4 separate regions of the Homo sapiens genome follow, and all the other regions are linked to region 3. The links are contacts of gene promoters, found by promoter capture Hi-C in blood cells and fetal thymus (Javierre and others, 2016). All regions are on one chromosome and are shown on one strand. Each heading gives the region's core, a stretch centred on a gene start or on the middle of the fragment in contact. The rest is flanking DNA. Distances are from core to core; before and after follow the strand shown. Region 1 holds the start of KCNQ5-IT1 (KCNQ5 intronic transcript 1). Region 2 has its middle 12 kb from the start of KCNQ5. Region 3 holds the start of KHDC1 (KH domain containing 1). Region 4 has its middle 68 kb from the start of KCNQ5.

Evidence for each region. The method cuts DNA at HindIII sites, captures the fragments that hold promoters and counts their contacts. A CHiCAGO score of 5 or more calls a contact.
Region 1: a contact is called between a fragment that was not itself captured here and the fragment with the promoter of KHDC1 in region 3, in 2 of 17 cell types (naive CD8 T cells and fetal thymus). The highest score is 6.2, in naive CD8 T cells.
Region 2: a fragment that was not itself captured here is called in contact with the fragment with the promoter of KHDC1 in region 3 in 1 of 17 cell types (total CD8 T cells); the score reaches 5.2 in total CD8 T cells.
Region 4: a contact is called between a fragment that was not itself captured here and the fragment with the promoter of KHDC1 in region 3, in 2 of 17 cell types (erythroblasts and naive CD4 T cells). The highest score is 7.4, in erythroblasts.

The regions. Positions count from the first base shown.
Region 1 is chr6:72,630,345-72,634,076 of GRCh38, forward strand. The region is part of intron 1 of KCNQ5 (potassium voltage-gated channel subfamily Q member 5); the gene reads left to right. KCNQ5-IT1 (KCNQ5 intronic transcript 1) reads left to right here and starts at 151. Exons shown (of 4, transcript NR_120503.1): 1 at 151-247. The HindIII fragment of the contact is 9,254 bases long and covers 1-3,732 here.
Region 2 is chr6:72,608,413-72,611,852 of GRCh38, forward strand. No RefSeq gene overlaps it. Among named protein-coding and RNA genes, the nearest start is that of KCNQ5, 12 kb to the right of the region's middle. The HindIII fragment of the contact is 2,027 bases long and covers 664-2,690 here.
Region 3 is chr6:73,261,652-73,264,992 of GRCh38, forward strand. KHDC1 (KH domain containing 1) reads right to left here and starts at 1,545. Exons shown (of 4, transcript NM_030568.5): 1 at 1,123-1,545. The region is part of intron 2 of LOC122539213 (KHDC1-KHDC1L); the gene reads right to left. It also overlaps the pseudogene KHDC1-AS1. RefSeq lists a silencer at 1,389-1,658. The HindIII fragment of the contact is 4,328 bases long and covers 1-2,734 here.
Region 4 is chr6:72,551,960-72,555,659 of GRCh38, forward strand. No RefSeq gene overlaps it. Among named protein-coding and RNA genes, the nearest start is that of KCNQ5, 68 kb to the right of the region's middle. The HindIII fragment of the contact is 195 bases long and covers 1,165-1,359 here.

The sequences.
Region 1 (3,732 bases), core at 1,083-3,582, 630 kb before region 3:
TTCTAGAATCCCTATTCCTTCTTCAGTCAGTGGCTGGATAATCTAATTATAATGTTATAATCCATCATTTCTCTTTTTGAACAGTCAATTTAGTTTAACATTTGCTTAACAGCCATTATGTATGCCAGGTAATGTGCTAGATGCTGGTGGTTCAAAGAAAGGAACGATGTGGACCTGACCTCAAAGAAATCCATTGGAGAATATGACAGATTTAGATTTAATGATCAACTTTACTTTTCCTATACAGGTACCAGTTTCTTAATCTATAAAATATCAGTACCAGTTTCTTAATCTATAAAATAGAAATAAAATATTACTTCAAGGTGTTATATGTATAGTATATGTGTACATAATGTTTAATATATACATATTAACAGTTAGCATGGTGGCTCTCGCTGAAACTAGAGGGAAAAATAGAGACAATGTGCTGGAAGGCTGTATTTATATGATAAAGGTCTAGGATTTTATCCTATATGTGATGGGCAATCTTTGAGGAAGATAGGATTTAGGCAAATAATAATGTCATTGGATTTCCATTTTAGATTGGTGATTCTACTAGCTCTATCAGTGATGGCTTGAGGGAGACAAAACTGGAGGTAGAGGATAAATTTTAAAACTGTTGTTCCAACTTAAGCAAGAGATAATTAGGACTTAGACTGGGGCAGTGGTAGGAAGGATGGGGGAAAGGTGTGACAATAGAGTTGAAATGTATTAGTGAATGATTGAATGTGGAAGATTAAGAGATACAGATTTGTTATTTCCAGATTATTGGATTGGGTGCTTGGGTAAATAGTGGTGCTATTAACTGAAATCAATAGAGGTGGAACAACAGGTTGGCGAATTGCAGGGGTGATAAAATGAGTTTAGCTTTGGAAATGCTGAGCTTTTGGTGCCTGTGGGAATTCCAACTATAAATGTACAGCAGCTCTTGGATGATGATTTAAAAGACATAAAATACAGACAGGAGTTATAATCACGAGGAAGGCAAATAAAGATAAAGGGTAGGAGGTCAAGGATGGAAATCTGGAGAATACCAACATTTAATTGATAAGCAAAGGAAACAAGGAATGAAATGGAGTAGACAGGAGGCTATAAGGAAACACTAGACAAAAAGATGGTCAGGGTTGTGGAAACAAAGGGTATTGAGAGAGTTTCAAAAAAAAATAAAAGTAACCAATTCTGAAATGTAGAGAGTGGTTTAGTAAGATAAAGATCCATCAGAAATTACCATTGGATCTGGCAATGTGGAATTCTTCAGTGATGTTATAAACTCATCAGTGTTAACCTTCAGTGAAGCAGTGAGGGCAGAGGCAGATTGCTGTTAGCTGAGAAATGAATCAGAAGTGAGGAGAGGAAACAGCATATTTAGGCCATATGTTCACTTAGTTTGGCAAGAATAAAAGGGAGATTGGACACTAGCTACAAGGAAATACAAGGCTAAAAGGAAAATCAAGAGAGAATAAAGTTATAGAGAAGAAGTTTTTTTATCACAAATAATAGTCATTTTAATGATTATGTGCTGGACATTGTTCTAAATTCTTTATGCACATTAATTCTTTTATTCCTCCGAATAACCCTAATAAGTAATATTAGTGTTATCATCTTCCTTTCAGCAAACCAGAATACCAAAGTAGGGGGAGGTTTAGTAACCTGTCCAAAGTCAGCTTCTGAGTTAATGGCAGAACAGGGCTTTGAACCAAGGCAGGTTGGCTGAGAGCCACACATGCTTAGCCACTATATTTTATTTCCTTTACTTTGCCTGTTAGAGTTTTAGATTTTTTCTTTCTTTCTTTCTTTTTTTTTTTTTTTTTGAGACGGAGTCTCACTCTATTGCCCAGGCTGGAGTTCGGTGGCGCGATCCCCGCTCACTGCAAGCTCCGCCTCCTGGGTTCACACCATTCTCCCGCCTCAGCCTCCCAAGTAGCAGGGACTACAGGCGCCCGCGACCACCCCTGGCTAATTTTGTTTTTGTATTTTTAGTAGAGACGGGGTTTCACCGTGTTAGCCAGGATGGTCTCCATCTCCTGACCTCGTGATCCGCCCGCCTCAGCCTCCCAAAGTGCTGGGATTACAGGCGTGAGCCACCGCGCCTGGCCAGTTTTTTTTTCTTTTTTTAAAAAATCAACTTTTATTTTAGAGACGGGGGTACTTGTGCAGGTTTGTTACATGGGTATATTGCATCCAGGTAGTGAGCATAGTACCCAATTGTTAGTTTTTCAACCCATGGCTCTTCTCTTCCTCCCGCTTCTAGTAGTCCCAAGTGTATATTGTTCCCATGTTTACATCTTTATGTGCTTAGTATTTATCTTCACACTTCTAAGTGAGAATATGTGGTACTTGGTTTTCTTTTCTTACATTAATTCACTTAGGATTATCGCTTCCAGCTACATCCATGTTGCGGCAAAGGACATGATTTCATTCTTTTTTATGGCTGCATAGAATTCTATGGTGTATATGTACCATTTTTTTTTTTTATCCAAACCACCATTGATGGGCACCTAGGTTGATTCCATGTCCTTGCTATTGTGAGTAGCATGGCAATGAACATATGAGTGTGTGTGTCTTTTTGGTATGATGATCTATTTCCTTTGGGTATATACCCAGTAATGGGATTGCTGGGTGAAATGGTAGTTCTGTTTTAATTTATTTGAGAAATCTCCAAATTGCTTTCCACAGTGACTCAACTAATTTACATTCCCACTAACAGTGTATAGGTGGTCCCTTTTCTCTGCAGTCTCACCAGCATCTGTTGTTTTTTGGCTTTTTAATAATAATCATTCTGATGGTATGAGGTGGTATCTCATTGTGGTTTTGATTTGAACTTCTCTGAGGATTAGTGATGATGAGCATTTTTTCATATGCTTGGGGGCCACTCGTATGTCTTCTTTTGAGAAGTGTCTGTTCATGTTCTTTGCCCACTTTTTAATGGGGTTGTTTTTTGCTTGTTGATTTGTTTAAGTTCATAGACTTCGGATATTAGAGCTTTGTCAGATGCATAGATTGTGAATATTTTCTCCCATTTTGTAAGTTGTCTGTTTATAAATCGGAGACGACACAAATAAATGGAAAAACATTCCATGCTCATGGATTGGAAGAATCAATATTGTTAACATGGCCACACTGCCCAAAGCAATTTACAGATTCAATGTTATTCCTGTCAAACTACAATGCCATTCTTCACAGAATTAGATAAAACTATTCTAACATTCATATGGAACCAAAAAAGAACCCGAATAGCCAAAGCAATCCTAAGCAAAAAGAACAAAGCTGGAGGCATCACTATCTGACTTCAAACTATAAGGCTATACCAAACAAAACAGTGTGGTACTCATACAAAAACAGACACATAGATCAATGGAACAGAATAGAAAATTCAGAAATAAAGTGGCACACTTACGATCTGATCTTCAATAAGGCCAACAAAAACAAGTAATGGGGAGAGGGCTCCCCAGTTCAATAAATGGTGCTGGGATAACTGGCTAGCCATATGCAGAAGAATTAAACTGGACCCCTACCTTTCACCATATACAAAAATTATCTCAAGATGGATTAAAGATTTAAATATAAGACCTCAAACTAGAAAAATCCTAGAAGAGAACCTAAGAAATAGTTTTCTCAACATCAGCCTTGGCAAAGAATTTTTGACTAAGTCCCCAAAAGCAACTGAAGCAAAACCAAGAATTGACAAGTGGGACCTAATTAAACTAAAGAGCTTAGGCTGCTATAATCTTG
Region 2 (3,440 bases), core at 427-2,926, 650 kb before region 3:
GGATTTGCCAGTTATGTTCCTTTACAAGAAGATATCTTAAAATAAATAAACATTCCAATATGTTGTGACTCTTAATTTTTTCTCCTAATACTTTTCTTGTTTTCTCCATAACAAAGCTGGAAGCCATCCATAAGTGTTATTTAACATTTACAGAGCAACTAATAAGTGCAAGGCACTGGCATCTATTATACCATAACACATTATTGTCTCTCATTTTGAAAATGAGAAAACTGGGGAACTGAGAGACTAAACACTGCATCCAGATTTACTTGTATGTTAAATAGGGTTATTGGGATTTAGGTTAATCCGTGTAAAATCTCTGATTTTGTCAGTATAATTCAAAACAGAAAACAATTTTGCACAAGTTTAATCATTTTTTAAGACAAAAAATTAGAACATCGTTCCAGGAGTATTAAGGAAATAGGAGTACTTTCATAATTCAAACTTGAAGAGTAGCGTTATTTTTCTTAAAGGAATGACTTTCTTTTCCAGAACAAAGAAACTTAAGGACCCCAGTAGATCAGTGAAGATGGAAATAAATGCAATGTTTTGAGGATTTATGTACCCATGAGCTTACAACCAAATTGAATATGAATATGTATATACATAAAAAATAAATACTACCTATGGAAAACCTATTTTTGATTTAGCAGATTAAAAACAAGCTTTTCCAAAAGAGAGGTAAATTTATTCAATAAGAAAATTCATTAAGCCACTTCTGGCCTTTTATTATCTTCAAATTCTAACAGATTTCCTTCTAACCAGAGACCATTGTTATACAAGAAAATTGTTAGCTGCTATAGTACATTCATATATTACTATATGATATAGTACATTCGTATATTACTATACGATATAGTACATTCGTATATTACTATACGATATAGTACATTCGTATATTACTAACTGAAGTAAAAAAATGTCAGTTTGATACAGCTCTTCTAAGGTTATGAATGTGTATTTTTATTACATTTCTCAAATATGATGCAGCAAACCACAATGGAAACACTTGCATTAAAATGACACTCAGACCAAATGTTCATGCTTGAATCTCTCATAAAATGCCTCTAATGAAGTGGTGAATAGGCATCTATGAACTCTAGTTATTTTAATTTGCTAATTGATATTTTATTACCACCTTAATCTAAAGAGCCCTTGTATAAATTTATATGGAATTAGATAAAATTATAATAAACCTATAGTGTCATTTGAGGCATCTATATTCCAATGCAATCAAGAAAAAAAGTCTCAGAAGAGCCCTCAAAACCCTGAACCAATTAGCCATTTATTTGTTCTCTGGATTTTTTGCTGCCTCTTTCATTTCTATCCTATAGTAGAAGCAGGAAGTTATGTTCATTTTTAGGTATACAAAAATACTGTTATTATTTTAACCTTCTAGAATATTGCAAAGTCTGACATGCTTACTTACCTGTTGACTTTCCCTGGTTTTGTATACATTGAAAGATTTTACTTTAAGTGGAAAAATGTTTTCCATATGAACATCTAGCATCATTTCCCCAGGTGTATTATAAAAACTAAAATTCTAAATATAGAAATAAATGGTACGTAGACCAACAAATATCACCAAATGGCAGCAAGCAACACTTCCCACCTCAATACCTTCAAAGGCTGACCTAAAAAGTTTGTTTAAAGCAGGGTTTCTCAACTTTGGCAATATTGACGTTTTGGGCAGGATAATTCCTTTTTTGTGGGGAGCTATCCTGTAAGTTGTAGAATGTTTAGCAGCATCCCCGGCCTCTACAACCTGGATGCCAGTAGCAACAGTTTCCCACACCCTCCCCCATACTATGTACTAAGCCAACCAGAAACACCACCGGACATTGCAAATATCATCTGCGGGGCAAAATTACCGCTGTTGTAAAGAAGTAGCTCCAGATGAATAAATGTTTATAAAACATATTAGTTGGTTTGGGGTTGTCAAGTTTTAGGTAATCTTTCTATCATTCCATGTTATGTATTTAAGTCTGCTCTAAAAATATTTTAAATCTTTCGAAAAAATACAGTAAACTATGGCATGAATTAGGTAGGGATAATGTTTGTTCTACAGTTTTAACATAGGTGGTAGGAACTCAGCAGTTGTAGGTTGGATTGAGGAATGGATAAATTAAAACAATTCTCATTAAGGGAATGAGATAGGGGTTTGGTCTAAACTCAAGCATGATTAGTCATGACCCAGCTAGCCACTGCAGAACTGAACACTGACAGCCCAGGCAAGGGGTCCAGGCAAGGGCTGGGGAGAATGGCCTCAGCATCAGGTGTGGGCAGGAAATAGTCTGCTAGGCAGAAGAGTGTATTCTTTTTTGTAGAATTATGCACTAGCAGGTTATTCAATGTGTATAACACAGAAATGCTGGAGCCAAGATGACATCCAGAGGTTCAGTAGGTAGGCAGGCAGGCAATTGACATTGTGGAAGTAGGTAAACCTGTAACAGGACCCTAGTCACCATTTTAAGATATGGGTCAAGACTTCAATTCCTGAGAGATGACTGAAACAAAAATGAGTATATCCCATGATAGTGTACTGTTAGGCGGCAGAGATAAAGCCTTAAGCATAGAGATGACTTTAGTATATTTTCCAGAATTGAGGTTCTGGCTGTACTCATAGTCTTCCCTTGTACTGCATGAGTAGATTCATGGCAGTTTGTATGCTTTAGTGGGCAATATTTTAAAGCTTAGATTGCAATTATATTAATACATATATATGTGTTTATATATGCACTCACTAAACTACACATACATGCATGCTCTTGGCTTTAAAATATTCAAACTCTGCCAGGTGCCATGGCTCACACCTGTAATCCCAGAATTTTGGGAGGCCAAGGGAGGAGGAGTTCAAGACAAGCCTGGGCAACATAGTGAGATGCCGATTCTACAAAAAATGAAGGAAAAAAAAAAAGCTAGATGTGGTGGCTTGACACTGTAGTCCCAGCTACTCAGGAGGCTGAGGTGGGAAGATTGCTTGAGACCAGGAGTTCAAGGCTGCAGTGAGCTATGATCACAGCACTGCACTCCAAATTGTGCAACAGAGTGAGACCCTGAGACCCTGTCTCTAAAATAAAAAATAAAAAATAAAAAGTATCCAAACTCTGGAAGATTAATTTGGAATAGAAACACCATTATTCTGAGTAAATGTGATCCCATAATATAACCATATGAAAAATGTAATGAGAGTTCAAGGCTGTTTTCTAACAGAAAGACCTATAACAAAGATCCAAAATCTCAGTTCAAGGGCTTTATAGTGACCACAAACCTTGCTGTCCTAGTACCTCCCTGATAGAAGTGTCATCAAGGTACTCCCAACCAAATCATGAGAAATAATGCAGATTACCAGGGAGGTCGAGGAAGTTCTAGCTATTCCAAATTTTCCCATATATCCCATATAAGTCATCCTGAAGATATCCTCAAGAGAATCTTTGTAA
Region 3 (3,341 bases), core at 295-2,794:
GCCTGTAATCCCAGCACTTTGGGAGGCCAAGGCGGGTGGATCATGAGGTCAGGAGTTTGAAACCAGCCTGGCCAAGGTGGTGAAACCCCGTCTCTGCTAAAAATACAAAAATTAGCTGGGCATGGTGGCAGGCACCTGTAATCCCAGCTACTCGGGAGGCTGAGGCAGGAGAATCACTTGAACCCGGGAGATAGAGGTTGCAGTGAGCCAAGATCGCACCACTGCACTCCAGCCTGGGTGACAGAGCAAGACTCCATCTCAAAAAAAAAAAAAAAAGCCTAGCTGGGCAAGGTGGTATGTGCCTGCGGTCTCAGCTACTCAGGAGGCTGAGGTGAGAGAATTCATTGAGCCCGGCAGGTTGGAGCTGCAGTGAGCCATGATGGTGCCACAGCCCTCCAGCCTAGGCAGCAGGAAAGAGGCCCTTCTCAAAAAAAAAAAAGCATAGACTCTAGGGCCAAATTGATGTGCTCAAGCAAAGGTTTTGCCACTTACGGTGTAACCTTGGGCCAGTTGCTTAACCTCTCTTGACCTCACTTGCCTTCTTTGTAAACCAGAGGTGATAATAGTATACCCATTTCATAGGGCTGTGGTGAGAACTAGAGGAGTTAATACATTTAAAGAGCTTAAAAGTGTCTGGTGCATAGCAAGTGCTACGTAAATGTTAAACCTTTCCTGCCCTTTTCCTCTGCTCCTCCTTTCCCTTGTTTCCTGTTACAGCATTCCTTCTTTTTTTCTTACTATTTCCTCACTATGCCTTTGCTTGAATACTAAAAAGAAACTACTGGTCCAACAGCAGGCAACACCTCATGCGATTACTTTAAATGACTTCAAAATAATACAAACATATCCAGCACAATAGTTTACATTTTAAAGGTGTTACACCCATTTTGTTTTGAGATGTGTCAACAAAACCCGTGTTTCTTTTCTTTCTATAAGTTTAAAATGTCCCCAAATCAATTAACAATAGAGGAAAGTCACACGATCTGTTTTAATTTTTCTCTTTATACTGCTATCTCCTGTTTCCCCTGTTTTTACACTTCTTTGCAGCTCACTTTCCTTATCTGTAAGATATTCTTAGGATGAACTTAGTAAGAAATGTGCAAGATCTAGATGAAGACCCACCAGATAGGATGCTCTCTTGCAGACACGCAACTCACTGACTCAACCAATGAGGAAATTATCCCACAAAGCAGATAATCCTAATGGAGGGCAGAATTCAGGACTGAGCATCTCAGTGATGCCGCCGGGAACCCAGGCTTCTCTGTCCCTTCACCGGACTAACCGAGTTCGAGACCACAGGGGGGTCAGGTAGCCAAGGCTGGGCTTTGACGGTAGGAATGAAGGAGGTGAGGGTGGCGCGCCGCAGGCCTGGGCCACTCCCTGAGTAGGGCGGCGGCGGCGGCGGCGGCGGCGGCGGCAGCGGCGGCAGCGGCTGCAGGCCTGGCCGATTGTGAGGAGACAGCGGTACCTCCTGGGCCGCGCACCCGACCCTTCCAGGGGTCCCGGCTCGCGCCGCGGCCGCGCGAGGCGCGCTCGAGCGGAAGTGGCGGCGACCCCGCCGGAAGCGCGCGGCTGCGGCGCGGGAAGCAACCCAGAGCCCTCCTCCCGCCTGCTCTGTGTAGGAGACAGCCTGCGGAGCCCACTGCCGGCGCGCAGAGAGCCCAGCAGCTCTTGAGTCCAGGAAGCAAGGGTGGGAGGAGGGACGAGCCAGTGGCAATGACCCAGACCCGGACGACCCCCATTGCTGAGCCAGCGGAGCTGCTTGGTGAGTGGCCTCCAGGCGGCATCTCTTGCTCTCAGCCCGGAGGGGGTTTTGGGGACCCAGGCTGTGGGGCTGCCTCTTCCCATGCCTTCAGTTCACCCCGATATGGGGTGAAAAACCCTAGAGACCCTCGGGTGTCGGTCCACCAAGGGAGGTCCAGACTCCCCAGGAATGTTGCCTGGGGAGGGGTGTCGCGGTGGGGGGGGGGGTGACCCAGGCCCACCCTCTGCAGGGCACTTAAAATGCTCCACATCCCCAGTGGATGCCTCCTGTCACGCATCACACCGTGGTGTATTTGAGATCCCATCTGCCACTTGGGCTGGAGGGAAATGAATGTTTTTGGGTTTCTTGTCATTGCTTCCTGCGGATTCCATTTTACTCCTGTTCGTTTATGGCCTCAAACATGAATTTGAAGAATTTTGCCCTCCCTGGCAGTATTGGGAAGAAGATTCTTTTGTTCAAGTCCGTTTGGACAATTAGATGGGAGTATTAACAAAAGGTCGGGCTGGGCACAGTGGCTCACACCTGTAATCCCAACACTTTGGGAGGCCAAAGAGCAAGGATCGCTTGAGCCCAGGAGTTCGAAACCAGCTGGGGCAACAGAGGGAGAACTTGTCTCTACAAAAAATTTAAAAATCAGCTGGGCATGGTGGTGCACGCCTGTAGCCCAAGCTATATGGGAAGCTGAGGTGGGAGGATTGCTTGAGCCCGAGAGTTTGAGGCTGCTGTGAGCTGAGATCACGCCACTGCATTCCAGCCTGGGCAACAAAGCAAGACCCTGTCTGAGGTCAACTCTGCCCCCAGGAAGGTATGGGACCTTGCAATCTTATCTAGGTTGCGTCTTTTTCATTGAAATCACGAAATCATTAAGGTAAGTAGGGAAGGGTCAAGATAGCTAAGATGAGTGAGGGGACACAGACACCAATAAAAGTTCTAACTTTGAGGACTCCTCCAGTATTCTTTTCATCCTAAAGCTTCTGGCCTATCAGCTAGTTCAGACACAGCCTAGGAGTCTCAAGCCAGTACAGGAACAAGGAGGCAGGTTGCCCTCTTGGGGCAAAGCTGTGGCCCCACCCTTGATGAAGAACGCCTGTAGGAACCCAGGACCTGTGAGCAGGTAGAGTCCTGAAGGTTTAAGATTCTGTGGAGCAGGTATGTGCAGTGCCAGTGCGCAACCAGCAACTGATGGACAGGAATAGGTAGAGCTGCTCTGAGTGCATTCCTTTGGCAAGCCTGGGCCAGAGGCACACAGGAAGGAATTAGTCATGTGGTATCATAGGCCAGGTGTGGAAGCAAATGAGCCAGAGTGGAACCAGGACCAGCCAGGGCCAAGGCAGGGAGAAGAGTTCCTCTAGCTGACATTGACAGGAAAGCAGAGTCAAAAACCTGGAATGGTTTGCTTCAAAGACTGGATGCTGCCTAATGACCTCGAAGGCCAGTGATACCTGGACTCTTGAGTGAGCAAGGCAGATTTTGGAATGAGCACACAACTTCAAGTAAGCCCGGAGATGATTACCTGTAGTTTCTGCTGCTCTTAGAGGCAGAATCATCTGAGAACTGATTGAGGAGTGCATGTATA
Region 4 (3,700 bases), core at 12-2,511, 710 kb before region 3:
CAAAGTTGCTGGATTTAGCAAATAAAAGAGCAAGATGCCCATAACATTTGAATTTCAGATAAATAAAGAATTTTTTAGTATAAGTATGTCCCATGTAATATGTGGGACACAGTTATACTAGAAAATTCTTTGTCATTTATCTGAATTTTAGTCATAACTGGGCATTCTGTGTTTTGTGCTTTTTGTTTGTTTGTTTGTTTTTTGTTTTACTGAGATGGAGTTTTGCTCTTGTTGCCTAGGCTGGAGTGCAATGGCATGATCTTGGCTCACAGCAACCTCCGCCTCCTGGGTTCATGCAATTCTCCTGCCTTAGCCTCCTGAGTAGCTGGGATTATAGGCATGTGCCACCACACCTGGCTAATTATTATTATTATTATTATTATTATTATTTTTAGTAAAGGCAGGGCTTCTCCATATTGGTCAGGCTGGTCTCGAACTCCCGACCTCAGGTGATCTGATCTGCCAGCCTTGGCCTCCCAAAGTGCTGGGATTACAGGTGTGAGCCACCGAGCCCGGCGTTTTTTTTTCCTTTTTGAGGCAGAGTCTTGCTCTGTTGCCCAAACTGGAGTGAAGAGGCATGATCTCGGCTCACTGCAGCCTCCGCCTCTCAGGTTCATGCTTCAGCCTCCCTAGTAGCTAGGACTACAGGTGTGCACCACCATGCCCACCTAAATTTTTGTATTTTTAGTAGAAACAGGTTTTCACCATGTTGCCCAGGCTGGTCTCGAACTTCTGAGCTCAGGCAGTCTGCCCTCCTTGGCCTCTCAGTGTGCTAGGATTACAGGCGTAAGCCACCACACCCGGCCGGGCACTCTGTATTTTACCTGGCAACTCTAGTTATATGCAAATACCTTGGACTATCTCTAAAGATAATCTGGTCTTTGTATGAGTTAACAGATGATTTTTATATATTTGGAGGGGAGAGATATTCAGTTAGTAACCATTCTATAAACTTTACCTCAAGACCTGACATGGAAATTTACCAGACTTGGTTTACCGGGTGGTCCACTGCTAGGAAAACATTTTCTAAAATGGCCAGAAAGCAAATATTTTAGGTGTTTTAGGTCGTGTAGTCTCTGTCACAACTATTCAACTCTTCCTTTGTCATGTGAAAGCAGCCACAGATAGTGTATACATAGGTGGGTGTGGCTATGTTGCAATGAAAGCTTATTTACAGAAACAGCTGTCAGGTTGGATTTGGCACACAGTTTTCCAACCCGTGGCACAATTGAACTGGCACATAGATGACATTCCAGTGTCATTACATGTAACTTATTGGAAAATCAGTCCGACATATTGGATATAACTGGACTCTTCAAAATTATAAAAATAGCAAGGTCATGAAGAGAAATGGAATAAAGCTTTTGCACAAATACTCTGCTGTATCCCTCTGCCACAGTAAGTAGATGAGAATGAACATAGGCTCATTTGGGTTTAAAACATTAATTGGAACTAATTAAATTTTGCACATTGTACTATTTCATAGTTGGTAATACAAAGAGACACTGTTATTCAGCCAAATTATAACTTTTTTGAAAAATTAATGAAAATATTTAAAATTTAAAATGGTGTTGGGGGCTGGCAACTCAGAGATGGAAAATTTAAACGAGATGAATAACACTGAAGAAGGCAAGTAAAAAGGCATCTCGTTACACAAGGGCAGCTGAAAGGCAGACAAATAACAGGATACGGCTGGTAGGATAAATAGAAGGAGACAAGTCTTGAGTAGTTTCCATGACTCATTGCTGAGCCACAGTAACCAGAGAGGCACAGAGACTGATTCAAAATGCATACAGGAAAAGTGAATATGGCATGCAGAAAGAGGAATAAAAAGAGCCAAGAACCAAGAAAGGATGAAATGGAATGATGTCTTAGAGAGATAACTTCCCTGGAGAGACTTCTGGAAAATAGAGACACAGAAATTGGTTTTGTTTATGATCTCTTGCCAGCAGCTTCTTGTTTACAATACAAGGGTTAAGTCAAAGATGACAGGTGTACCTGACAATGACAGGAAAGCATTTTTACAGCAAGAGTGTTTTGCTGTCCTAAGGGTTTAGTCTAATAGAAAGAACTCAGGCATATATTTAAAATCAATCATGTGTCTGACAGCCAACGATGCATTTCAGATAATCCATTGGGACAAATGTTTCACTTGCTAAATTTGAGACACACATAAGAGATGCAAAAGCAAATTGAGCGGAAAAAAAAGTCACTTTATTTAATAAGTTTCTTTTTCCCTTTCCATTCATCATCAAAGCCAGAATAAACCTGACACAACGGAAATGACTAAAATGAAGTAAAAAGGTAGTTGTCATTGAATAGTTATCCCCATGGCAATAGGAATAGACTGTGAACACCAAAGAATGAAAGGAATGAATGAATAATGAATGAATAAACACAATATGTATTTTGAGAACTCGGAATCAATCTGATGGTTTTGGGATGTGCCAGAAAAGATACACAAGAGTCATGATATCAGAAATGACCAACATTCTGGCTTTGCTAGAATTTGCTAATTTGTGAGATAAAATTCTTCCCATGTTAGAAGGCAAATTTAGAGGAAATAGCCCAAGATAGCTTTAGCTTTAGCTGCTGCTTTGTTATTATCATGAAAATAGTAGCTGAACTACTCTTAAGATGAGAATTTATACACTGTGATCAAAATAACTTTAAAAAATATCTCCAGCTCCTGTGTGATTCTTTTTGCATATGTCACACTAAAATGTATAAGAAAGTCTTTATTCTGATGAAGTCACTAGATATCATCAAAGGAAAAATTTATCTTGCTGGAGGCATAATAAAAACCTTTATTGAGCACTTCCTAAGTGTCAGGCATGGTGGTGAGTGCTTTGATAGTAGTTTCACAACAACCCTGGGAAGAAGATATTATTAATATCTCTATTTTTATATGGAAAAAACTGAAGCCCAGAAAGGTTAAGTAACTTGCTAAGGAACGCAGCTGAGAATTGGCAGTGCAGGGATTCTACTGCAGGCTGCCTCACCCCAAAGTCTAGGTCTGGATCACAACTCTACATTGTAAGGTTTTCTGCATGCCTGGACTGAAATATTTGGTAATTCACTACCCATGACAACAGTGCCCCCCCTAGACCTCTTTAATTGGCTTTGGTCGTGCAAGAGTCCTTTAAGAGAACTTTCCCGTTCTGGGTTATAAACACTGCCTACCTCTTAACTCATGATGCTGGTTCGTGGCCAGAAAGGTGATTTTAGTGGGTCATCTACCACTACACTGATTTCTAGAGTTGATTCTGTTGTTTTACTGGCTAGGCAGGTGTGTCCTTTCTCCCTCTCTTCAGTCGGCAAGCAGCCCTCCAGAGGCCCATTCTTTGGTCATGGATATTCATAGAAGGCATTCAAGTTTCCTGATTGAATTAATCATAGTGTGATTGACCACTCAGGGCGGTTCTCTCCAATGTATGGTCCTGAAAACTGCAAAGTAGCAACACCTGAGAGCTTGCTAGAAAGGCAGCTTCTCAGGCCCCACCCCAGACATACAATATCAGTGTCTTTGGAGTGGGGGGCCTAGAAATCTGCATTTTATCAAAATCCCAAAGCAAGTTGCAAATATATTAAAGTTTGAGAGGCATCAACTTAGGGGACTCCCTATGACTATCACTTTTCCTCATATTTAGAAGATTCATAGCTCTGTATATGGGGAGTCTTTCGGACCCATAATCAGTTC